4 separate regions of the Homo sapiens genome follow, and regions 1, 2 and 4 are each linked to region 3. The links are contacts of gene promoters, found by promoter capture Hi-C in human tissues and cell types (Jung and others, 2019). All regions are on one chromosome and are shown on one strand. The core of a region is centred on a gene start or on the middle of the fragment in contact, and the rest is flanking DNA. Distances in the headings are between cores, read along the strand shown. Region 1 has its middle 170 kb from the start of BMP7-AS1. Region 2 has its middle 280 kb from the start of BMP7-AS1. Region 3 holds the start of TFAP2C (transcription factor AP-2 gamma). Region 4 has its middle 150 kb from the start of BMP7-AS1.

Evidence for each region. The method cuts DNA at HindIII sites, captures the fragments that hold promoters and counts their contacts. A contact is called where the count stands out against the background at its distance.
Region 1: a contact is called between a fragment that was not itself captured here and the fragment with the promoter of TFAP2C in region 3, in 1 of the 25 tissues and cell types used here (mesendoderm cells).
Region 2: a fragment that was not itself captured here is called in contact with the fragment with the promoter of TFAP2C in region 3 in 3 of the 25 tissues and cell types used here (H1 embryonic stem cells, mesendoderm cells and neural progenitor cells).
Region 4: a contact is called between a fragment that was not itself captured here and the fragment with the promoter of TFAP2C in region 3, in 2 of the 25 tissues and cell types used here (mesenchymal stem cells and thymus).

The regions. Positions count from the first base shown.
Region 1 is chr20:57,043,880-57,046,579 of GRCh38, reverse strand. No RefSeq gene overlaps it. Among named protein-coding and RNA genes, the nearest start is that of BMP7-AS1, 170 kb to the left of the region's middle. RefSeq lists an enhancer at 1,360-1,861. The HindIII fragment of the contact is 6,368 bases long and covers 1-2,700 here.
Region 2 is chr20:56,929,358-56,932,057 of GRCh38, reverse strand. No RefSeq gene overlaps it. Among named protein-coding and RNA genes, the nearest start is that of BMP7-AS1, 280 kb to the left of the region's middle. The HindIII fragment of the contact is 8,822 bases long and covers 1-2,700 here.
Region 3 is chr20:56,627,914-56,630,613 of GRCh38, reverse strand. It overlaps TFAP2C (transcription factor AP-2 gamma), which reads right to left and starts at 1,308. Exons shown (of 7, transcript NM_003222.4): 1 at 1,022-1,308. The coding sequence starts at 1,069. RefSeq lists silencers at 987-1,281, 1,338-1,397. The HindIII fragment of the contact is 13,903 bases long and covers 1-2,700 here.
Region 4 is chr20:57,060,206-57,063,050 of GRCh38, reverse strand. No RefSeq gene overlaps it. Among named protein-coding and RNA genes, the nearest start is that of BMP7-AS1, 150 kb to the left of the region's middle. The HindIII fragment of the contact is 4,827 bases long and covers 1-2,845 here.

The sequences.
Region 1 (2,700 bases), core at 183-2,682, 420 kb before region 3:
TCAGCCTCTCCTGGGAGCATGTTTGAAATGCAGGTTCTTGGCCGGGCACAGTGGCTTACAGCTGTAATCCCAGCATTTTGGGAGGTGGAGGTGGGCGGATCTCTTGAGTCAAGGAGTTGGAGACCAGCCTGGGCAACACAGCAAAACCCTGTCTCTAAAAAAAAAAAAAATACAAAAAAATACAAAAATTAGCCAGGTGTAGTGATGAGCACCTGTAGTCCCAGCTACTCAGGAGGCTGAGGTGGAAGAATCGTTTAAGCCCCGGGGGCAGAGGTTGCAGTGAGCCGAGATTGTGCCACTGTCCTCCAGCCTGGACTGACAGAATGAGGCCCTGTCTCAAAAAAAAAAAAAAAAAAAAGAAGAAGAAAAGAAAAAAAAGAAAGAAAGACAGAAAGAAAGAAAGAAAGAAAGAAAAGAAAAGAAAAGAGAAAAGACAAAGAATTGCAGGTTCTCAAACCAGCAACTCGTTTTAACAAGATTGTCCCTCATTCTCAAACTTTACCTTTGAATCATCCCCCATGGGTCTGGAGTGGGGCCCAAGAATCTGCATTTCTCTCCAGGTGATGCAATAGCGAAGTTTTGTTCGCAGGGTCTTACTGTTCCCTGGCAGAGGGGGACCTCCAACAGATCGAGATAGCTGAGAAGAAGGCTGGTAAGACACAAGAAGCAATTCTGGACCTGGGCTTCTTGAACTTGAACATGCACCCGAATCACCTGGAGGACTTGTTAAAACGCAGAGTGCAGAGGGATGGGGGGAAAGAATGTGCATTTCTTTTTTTTCTTTCTTTTTTTTAATTATTATTATACTTTAAGTTTTAGGGTACATGTGCACAATGTGCAGGTTAGTTACATATGTATACATGTGCCATGCTGGTGCGCTGCACCCACTAGCTCGTCATCTAGCATTAGGTATATCTCCCAATGCTATCCCTCCCCCCTCCCCCCACCCCACAACAGTCCCCAGAGTGTGATGTTCCCCTTCCTGTGTCCATGTGTTCTCATTGTTCAATTCCCACCTATGAGTGAGAATATGCGGTGTTTGGTTTTTTGTTCAAGAATATGCATTTCTAACAAGTTCCCCGATGCTGCTGATGCTGCAGGCCCGGGGACCCCACTTCAAGAACCACTGCTCTAGCCCTACAGGTGAGCTACCAGTGCATAACATGGTGCTCAGGGATTAGGGTGGTCAGAGACCCAAGTCTGCAGGGCTCCAGTTCCAGCCATCCCCTGCCTGGAGCCTCCTCTAGGGACCCTCGGAGGATGGCCCAAGCTGGGTGAGGTGAATGGCTGCCCCATACTCCCCACACAACCGGCACAAACTCTGCTCTGCCTGATGCTCCAGGTTCAACCAGGAGATCCTCCAGCATCTCAGCATCTTCGTCCACATCCCACAGCAAGCACACCTCTGCTCTCATGGACAAGGGCCCCTGGGGGCGCTGAGGGAGCTCGTGTCTCAGGTGCTGAAGGTGAATGATGTGCCACCCCAGGTGTAGCTGGAGGGAGGTGGAGGCAGGAGGCTGGGTGGAGGCTGCAGGTGGGCAGGGTCCAGATGGCCCAGAGCCCAGCTGGTGTTGATTTGCAGCTGATGTGTCCTTTTAGCATCATCCAAGCTGGCTTCAGAGTCACCGCACTCACAGTTCATGTCTGTTCTCCAAATTAGAGCATCACTGTTATTTCGAAGTACGTGGTATGGAAAAGTTCAGTTTGGAATTCTTGCATACAATCGTAAGAAATTACAATATTTTATGTTGTTAAAAGAATCTTTGGATTCTTTCAATATAATTTTCACCTGTTCTTTTATGTTCCTTTTTTGAATATTGTTTTAAAAATGATTTTAAAAAATATATTCCTTATTTATTCAAAATTTCTCATAAAGAGTGGCAATTAGTAATTTCCAGATATCCCTAACAAAATTCTTGCTGAGAAATTGTGTGCTATCATGTCAAGCATAAAATCTGGCATAAGCTAGGAACCTATATGGAAGCAAGTTCAAGTTCTTTTTTTAAGGTAAGAAGATTTTATTTGGAAGCTTTAAACAAAACTCAGTATTAAATATACCCCGTAATCCTTTGTATTTTGTCTTTATTATCATTACACAGTACTTTAAATGCCATGAAGCTTTTCACCAAGCCTCATAACGGACTCCCCAGAGCCTGGCTGCCTAAGCCCAGGACACTGTCTAGATGCTACCATTTTCTATACATGCGGTGTTGCCAAGAGGCAAGAGCTGCTCCAGAGAAGAGGGGCTAGACTCGGGTCCAGCACAGGGCTTGGCATGTAGAAAGTACTCAAAAGATGGAAACGTGGGTTTGAATGAATACATTCAGGCTTTCTTTTGGCATAGAAGAAAAATCAGTGCATCTTTGCTTGGTCTTTCACAGGGCCCCAAATATCCATATCCAGAAGGGCAGGGATTTTTGTCTGTTTTCCTCGCTGCTGTGGCACCAGTGCCTGTCCCAGCACAGTACCTGGCCCCTAGCCAGGGCTCGCTGAACGTCGCTGGAGGAAGAAACGAGGGATGACCTTTGAGACCAGAGTCAGAAACACGGTCTTTGGTCCCGCATGTCCGCCCCTCTCTGTGGACAGGGGAAGGCAGTGGGGAAGTTAAAGCAGCAGCACGCATCCCTAGAAGCAGAAAATAGGAATCAAAGGCTCAGACGCCCTGCTCAGAGTGCCGGTCCAGGGTGAGTGATCCTTGTG
Region 2 (2,700 bases), core at 67-2,566, 300 kb before region 3:
GGCCTCCATAAATCCTGCACACCGGGTACCCCTCTTGCCTCCCCCAGTCCCAGTGCTGTTGGAGGTCTGAGGAGTTGAGAGGAGGCCAGCATGGCCAAAGTGACAGTTCCCTTGGTGGGTGGTGGGGACATCACATGGGGTCTCCTAGGGAATGTAAAAGGCCTGGCTTTTATTCCAAGTGTGGTATGGAGCCATTTGAGATCTTTGAACAGGGGAATGACGAGATCTCATTTCCATTTTAAAGGGCTGATTGCAGTTTAAATTTTAAAAGGATAGTCAGCAGAAAAAAAAAAAAAAAAGAATACTCTGAGAGTGAAGTCATTGGCCCAAGGACAGGAAGCTACCAAAATTCTGTTGTCTCTCCCTCACTCCCAGTGTCCTTAACCGTGAGGCAGCACTGTCTCTCCACAGGACACCCACGGTTTCTCGAGGGCTCTTCGTCCATCCCTGAGCTTCAGGCTTTACTTGTGTTATCTCGGAGAGTACAAGTTCTGGAGACACGTACAGTTATTTGTGTTTTACAGATGAGGAAACCCAGGGTGTAGGAGTTTAAGCAGCTTTCTCAGGGCCACACCACCAGGAAGTGGCCAGAGGCCATTCCTTGAATCTCCATGTCCAGCCCTTTCCGCCACGATCCTCGGTTCAAGTGTCAGAGGCGTTTGAACCAGAGCAACTCCATCCTGAATAGGGACTGGGTAAAATAAGCCTGAAACCTGCTGGGCTGCATTTCCCATTGGTTGGGCATTCTAATCACAGGATGAAATAGGAGGTCAGCACAAGATCCAGGTCATAAAGACCTGCCCAATAAAACAGGTTGTAGTAAAGAAGCCAGCCATAACCCACCAAAACCAAGATGGCAACAGGAGTGACCTCTTGGTGTCCTCGCTGCTCATAACCTGCTAATTATAATGCATTAGCATGCTAGAAGACACTCCCACCAGCACCATGTCAGTTTACAGATGTCATGGCAACGTCTGGAAGCTACCCTATACGGTCTAAAAAGGGGAGGAGCCCGCAGCTCCGAAACTGCCCATGCCTTTCCTGGGAAAACTCATGAATAATCCACCCCTTGTTTAACATATAATTTAAAAAAAACATAAAAATGGGCAACCAGCAGCCCTCAGGGCTGCTCTGCCTATGGAGTAGCCGCTCTTTGATTCCTTTATTTTCTTAATAAACTTGCTTTCATGTTACTCTAAGGATTTACCTCAAATTCTTTCTTGTGTGAGATCCAAGAACCCTTTCTTGGGGTCTGGATCGGGACCCCTTTCCGGTAACACAAGTGTCCACCTCTCTACTTCCACAGTGCAGATTCACGGGGTCCACCATTGCAATTCCACATGTGCCCATTGTTGCTAATACAAACGTATGCTGTTGGGTATAAAGTATAACTCACTGATAATATTATTTATCCTTTTGACTATCATACGTGCCCCCTATTTAATCTCTCTGTTTATGGAGTGGAGTGGCACTTAATTTTCCTGTGATCCAGATGCACAGATGATGGAATTATAAGGAGCCAGCATTTGGATTCCTACCTCTAAAAGGGTTGCCAAATTAAACACAGGAGACCCCGTTAAATGTTCATTTTAGATAAACAATGAATACTCTTTTTTTTAGTATAAGTATGTCCCAAATATTGCGTGAGAAAGACTTATCCTTAAAAAAATTATCGTTTATCTAAAATTAACATTTAATTGAGTGTCCCGTAGTTTGATTTGCTAAATGTGATGGGCTTAACTCTGGCAACATGGGAACATCTCCATATTTTACTCTTCTCCCCAGAAAGAAATTATAAAAAATAATTAGTGATAACTTTTTCCCTTTAGACACTAAAGTGGCATTTAACTTGTTTTCTTGAGGGTAGATGAGAACCCCTTTGCTCGCTTCACCCTCCTCCCCCTTTGTCCCTTCATCCTTCAACCTGAGAAATTAAAGCTTCGGTGAGTGCGGTGAGAATCCGAGTATAAATGCCTTTCTGAATAGTCGGCAATCGAAACAAATAAATCCGCTCCCCATTACCCCGTGTAGTTGGTTTTTCTTTCTGTTTACTGTATTTTCTACTTAAATGAAGGCCATAATGATACACTCGCTATTCTTGTCATTTTTGCTCTGTTTGATGCTTAATGACGTGCTCCTTATACATGGCATTAAAAAACATTCCTTGTCTGTCATGGACGCCTGGAGGCATGAGCAACCTTGCTCAGCACTCAAAAGTAATTAAAGACAATCAACCAAAAATGCAAGGGGTTTGTGGGACCCCAGATTCCAAACTCCACCTACGTACAGCGGGAGCCAAGCGTCCTGCAAGGAGGAGCTATTTACATTTAACTCTCTGATGCATCGCAGCTTCATTTTGCTCAGACTCACCACAGCTTGCTGAAGGCACAAACACCTGAGAACTTCATCTAAGAGCTAATGGACAGTTTCCTTTCAAGAGTTAGGGGGAAAAAAAGACCTCCCAGCCTTGAACACCAGAACACTTTTGTCCCCCTTTGGCTGTTTGCAGGTCATTTATTTCCAGTTTCTTAAAAATATTTATAGGCAACAAGGAAGAGGAGATGAAAATTGTAAGGTAAAAATTTTCTTAAACCAATGCAAATGTTATTTTTCTGAAACAACAGTCAATGAAGTTAGATTAAAATCTTGTTGTAGCAGAAATACATTTTCATGTCACTAAAGTCTTTACAAATGTTCAAA
Region 3 (2,700 bases), core at 59-2,558:
GAGGGAGCGCGCGCACAGGGCGGCCCTCCCTGCTGGCCGGGCCCAGCCGAGGGGAGTAATAAGTGGGGGCGCCCTGCACTGCCAAGGGCAGTGTTCTCGCACGTCGGGGCGCAGAGGGGGCATGAAGAACCCTGGAAATTGGGCAGCCTTGCCCGCGCACGTTCCCTCGCCCCTGGGCGGCCCGACTCAGTTTCTAAAGGATGCGTCCCCATCTGCCCAGGGGTCTCGGGGCGCCGGGAACCTGGAGGAACATGGCGCTGTCGCCTCCTGGCGGAAGCGCCCGGGCCTGCGGGCAGGGGCAGCCCTCCAGGGCCCGGAGGCGCAGTGAACTCCCGCGAGTCCGTAGCCCGAGCTCCGCGCTCCCGGCGCCCCTGAGCTCGCCTAGCGCTGCCTGCGTCTTCTTCCTCTTCCCGCTCGCCGCCTCCTTCTTCCCTCCCACTCTCCGAAACTCTAGCTCAACCTGTCCGACAGGCTGGAGCACTCGCGAGCTCTTACGGCCCCATCTGGCCTCGGGCACCCCCACCACCACTCCCCAGCCCCCACTTCTTTTGAAAGCCAAACTTCGGTTGTTTTCGTGCTTCCCCGAGGAGGTAGCGGGGCAGGTGACAAGCCGGCCTTGGAGGAGTGTCCGCCAAGGTGTCGCTAGCAGGTAGCCTCATCTGACCCCTTTGGACAGAGACTTCGTGCGTAAAAGCCACGTCTGAGGGTTGCAGACGGGGCACTTTTCCGAGAAAACGGGAAGCAGGGCTGTTTGCCGCTTAGGAAAGCGCCCGGTAAGCTGTGTGGGTGGGATTTGCCATTCTCTTTCCAGGCCTCGTTCCCGAGGGGAGGCTATTTAGGAAAAGGCCCTATACAGGAAAGGGGCCCCGCAGAAATGGACTAAGGGGTGTCCGGAGAAGTGGATCCCGTCCCACCGAGAGGCCAGGGCTCCTATGCCCTCGTCCCCGACCTCGGTCCAGTGGCCCCTGCCTCCCGGACTGTCCTCGGCGGGGCGGGGCTGCACCCCGGAGCCCCAGCTCACCTCGCAGTCCTCTTCGTACTTGACATTATCGGTTATTTTCCACAACATGGCGTCCGGCGTCCCCCAAAACAGTCGCCAGTTAAATCCAGGATCCCCCCAGCCCCCAAGCGGTAAATCCAAAATCGGGGTCACGGTGACCAGGCGTCTGCCGCCGCCCCCGCCGCGCGCGGGCCTTGCTGTCCGGGTCACTGGACACGCATCGGCGGCTCTGCGAGCGTAGATGCTGCCGCCGCGAGTGTCAAGACCGCTCCGCGGACGGGGAAAGCCGCGCCCGAACAGTGTGTCCTGGCGATAGCCGGGGGACCCGAGCGCCTTAATGAGAAGGAAATTATCATAACTCCTCCCCGGGGGCCGGCGCGGAGGCCCAGGCGCCGGGCGGGGCGGCCCCCAGCCAGTCCCAGCCTAGCTCCGCCCCGCACCCGGGCCTGGCGCAGCGCCGAGCCCCACGCTGTGAGGGACGAAGCGCGGAGTCAGTGGGCGGTGCCTCGTTGACAGCCGAAGACCTGCGAGGCCTGGGTCCCCCGACGCGCCTTCCTTCTGTCACCTCCACCGTAAACACACCTGAGATTGGCAGAGCTGGGGGAAGGGATCCAAATACTGAAACCCACCCCTCTTTCGCCTAAACGGCCTTCACTCGTTCCTCCAAAAGACGGATGTCACCTGGAGTTAAGAAACTGCGCATTTGGGGAGCGACTCAACAACCGGGGTCTCCTCATCTCCTAAAAACACATCCCATCCCACCTACACCCCACTGAGGCTTAAGGTCTGAGCTGGGATCATGCAGCTGGAGCCCCAGTGCGCCAGAGACGCCCAGTTCCCTCCGTGGGCACAGCGCGGTCCCGGCCCCCGGGCGGGAGGAGAGAGGAAGGGACTCCTGGGGAGTCTGCCCCAAGGGCCGCAGAGGCAGCAGACGGTCCTACCCGCCCAGGAGTTGCGGACAGCGGCGTCTCGCCGCTGTCGCCCGAAGTGGCATCTCCCGCGGCTGGCTGAGGCCAGGGGGAACCCGCGCGCACTGGACCAGCCCAGCGGCCCGGCCCTGCCCTGCCCTGCGGAACGCCGGCTCTGCAGCTGCCTCTGGCGGGCCGGTCACTCAGAAGCCTCTACTCGCCCTGGGAAAGAAGCGCCGGGCAGGAATAAAACCCGAGCGCCACGGGTAAGGTGAGGGTGAGGAGGTGCAGGAAGTTGGGAGAGAGCCTGCAGAGAGCTCTCGACTGGAGAGGTAGACACCCAGGTCCCACATGTTTAGACAGAAAACGAAACTTCCTTCCACACAAACGCTGCTTCCCTCTCCCCTTCGGTACTTGCCACCCAAACTTGAAAGCAAAGTGCAATACTAATTTTTAAAATTTAAACTAACGAAATTCTTTGGCCCAGTTATTATGCAGCAATTGACTTTCATTGTAAGGGGAACATCGCTAATTCTCGAGGGCGTATTTGTTGGGACGCCCCAACTGGCTCCCTGGGCTGGATTTAAACATTCTGTGGGGATTAGAGGACAAGACTATTTCTATTTGATACTGAATACGATTTTGCAATAATCAATGCCTATCAGTACGGTGTCCGCACCTGCAGTAGACATGACTCTCCCATCCACGGAATGGCGGCATCCACTGCCTCGCTGTTCCTTCTCGGGTTCGTTTGAACTTTAGCATTTATTTAGACCCAGGTGGGCCTAAAAG
Region 4 (2,845 bases), core at 222-2,721, 430 kb before region 3:
CTCCATGTGACACAGACAAGAGACAGGGAAATACTGGGTGGAAGAGGGCAGCTCCCTGGCAGAGGCCCCGCCCCAAAGCCTGGAAACCTGCAACCCTAAATGGGAACAGGCACTCCTGTTTTCATGCCCAAATGTTGCCTTTTGGCCTGCCATGGCCCCCTATCCTGTACCCATATAAACCCCAAACCCAGGTTCCACGAGCAGATGAGCAGAAGAATGGAGTGGTGGAGGAGGAGAGAAGAGAAGGAGCGTCTGAACGTCTGCTGGGGACAGTCAGAGAGATCGGCCCAGGGACAGCCAAACTCCAGGGAAAGATCATCTTCCCACGCCATTCCCTTTCCAGGTCCCCATCTGTCCTGCTGAGAGCCACCTCCAGCACCAAATAAAATCCCTGCATTCACCATCCTTCAAGTCCATGTGTGACCTGATTCTTCCTGAATGCTGGACAAGGACCTGTGTACCAAGACTGAGCTGGTTAACACTTAAGCCCTCCATGGATGGCAAGGCTAAAAGAGCACACTGTAACACACGCCTACTTGGGCTTCGGGAGTCACAGGATCCCACCTCCTGGATGCTGTTGTGGGGCTGGAGCCCAGGGGTGCTCACCCTATCTCCTGCACCTGCCTGTCTGCGTGCTCTCCCTCCTGTAAGGGGTTTGAGCACACACATGAGCCGTACCCTTGTTGCACATCCTGCAAGGGGGTTCAGGGAACTCTCCTGTTTCACATAGATATCCTTGTCAGATTCCCAATCTTTTCAATGATCTTATTTATAGGCTTTCCTATTGGTGAACATTTTCCCTGTGGCCCCTCCAGAAGCAAAGCTTTCTGAGGCAGGCACACTCTGGATCCTGCCCTCAGCGATACTGCACATGGTGTGTCCTCGGAAACCGGCACCGATAAGTGTCCAAGACATATTTATTGACTAACTGAAAGACACACGTTTACATAAATCCACCAGTGAAAATCAGGGTTGGGTACAGAATTTGCAGGGCCCAGTACAGAATGAAAAGGCGGAGTTCCTTGTCCAAAAATTATGAAGAATTTCAAGAGAGCATTAAACCCAGGGCAGGATGCTTCTAAGTGTGGGGCCCTGGACACATGCCCGTGAAGCCATCCCTGACTACGATATTACAACCACGGCCAAAGAATAATTTCTTAACTAAAAGTTCTTACTTCACTCAGTGCCCCCCAAACTCAAGTCCCAGCAGGGGTTCATTGGTAGGAATCCAGCTAAGAAAAATGTGGACAATGGAAGTAGTTTTTTTCTCAAGGCTAAACTGATGTCTCAGGGCTCAGTCTTAACTATTCTGCAACTGCTTTCCTTTTCTATTTTTGCTGGGAAAGTGTCTTCTCTTTTGAGAAGTGATGGTGATGCTGGATGTAATTACAGAGTACAAGGTTTGAGACTCTCACCCCCAGTGTTTTGGGTGCTTGCTTTGTATGTTGCCCTACTCTGTGGACTCCGGCATCTGAGAAGCGTCCTTTGAAGAGTTTAGTGGGATGGCTCCTATGTCCGTTCCCTTTCAGCAAAGAATCTGAGAGCATCATGGCCAGCAGAGGGGGCCGCAGGAATGCCGAATCCCCCTGGCAGGTCCCACATGTGGAGCTGCTCTCCCATCTCTCAGCTACCAGGGACGTACTTTATTAGGAGGAGAATCAGAATTCTATGAAACTCACCTGATGACCCTCCCTTTGGCATTTTGTATTTGCACGGTCTTCTTGGGCTAAAGCCTTTTTGGCTGAAATCCATGGTTCTGAGCCCTGGCTGCGTGTCAGCCTCACCTGGTGCGTTTTAAAAACATAATGTCCTGAGCTCGCCTCCCAGCATTTCTGATTCAGTTAGTCGGGGATGGGGCCTGGGCATCGGAGTTTGTAATGTCACTTCCCATCCCTGCTCTTTAATTCCAATTCTAATGAGTTGAGAACGCCAGCCAAACAGAATCTCTATCCGAAACTGGTGGTCTCATGGGAAAGGGAGTGAGTGCTTCTTTTTGGGGCCTGGGACAACTGTCTTCATTGCCTTCTTAGAGAAGGACAGTTTCAGCAAAGCACCAACAGGGCATGCCACAGGTTTGGGCAGGAAGCCTTGGGTGGTGCCCTGCCTCATGCTTGGTGGCACCTGAGCAGCTGTCCCTGACCTCTGCCTGGTCAGGAGCTTGTCCCGGTTTTCCTGTCTTGCCTGCGTCATGAGCAGGCCCACCCCTGGAAATGTGGCAGCTAGGTGTCTGGGCCCAGTGGGCTCTGGGTTGCAGCTGCTCCTTGCAGCCAGTGCATTGAGAGAACAGGCTGAGGTGCTGCCTTCTCCCTGAGCCGCCTCCTCCAAACCCTCGTGTAGCTCTGTCCCCAGCTGAAATATGATGACATTTACAGACTGCCTGTGAACGTGTTTCCTAATAGTAACCTTTTCAACAAAAAGAATAATTCAAAGTTTATGCAAAAGGCAATAGAAACCCCAAATGACTCAAAAGGTATTTTGGGAGTGGTTCCTCCCGCTGATCAAATGAGTAATCCTTCTAAGAGAGTACAAGCAATTTAATAAGAAAACTGTCTCCACGGTGAAGTTGCTTGAACCTGGGAGGTGGAGATTGCAGTGAGCTGACTTTGTGTCACTACACTTCAGCCTGAGCGACAGAGTGAGACTCTGTCTCAAATAATAATAATAATAATAATAATAATAATAATAATAACTCGTTCTCTGTCAGCAACCGCAGAGGCAAATCTCAAGACTTCACAGCCCTGCTCACCCGCACCCCACCCACTTCCCCATTGCCTCTGTCCTGAGATGGTTCCTTTCTAATATTCTGAAAAAGAGTTTGTGTCTCCCAGCATTACATTTATACAGG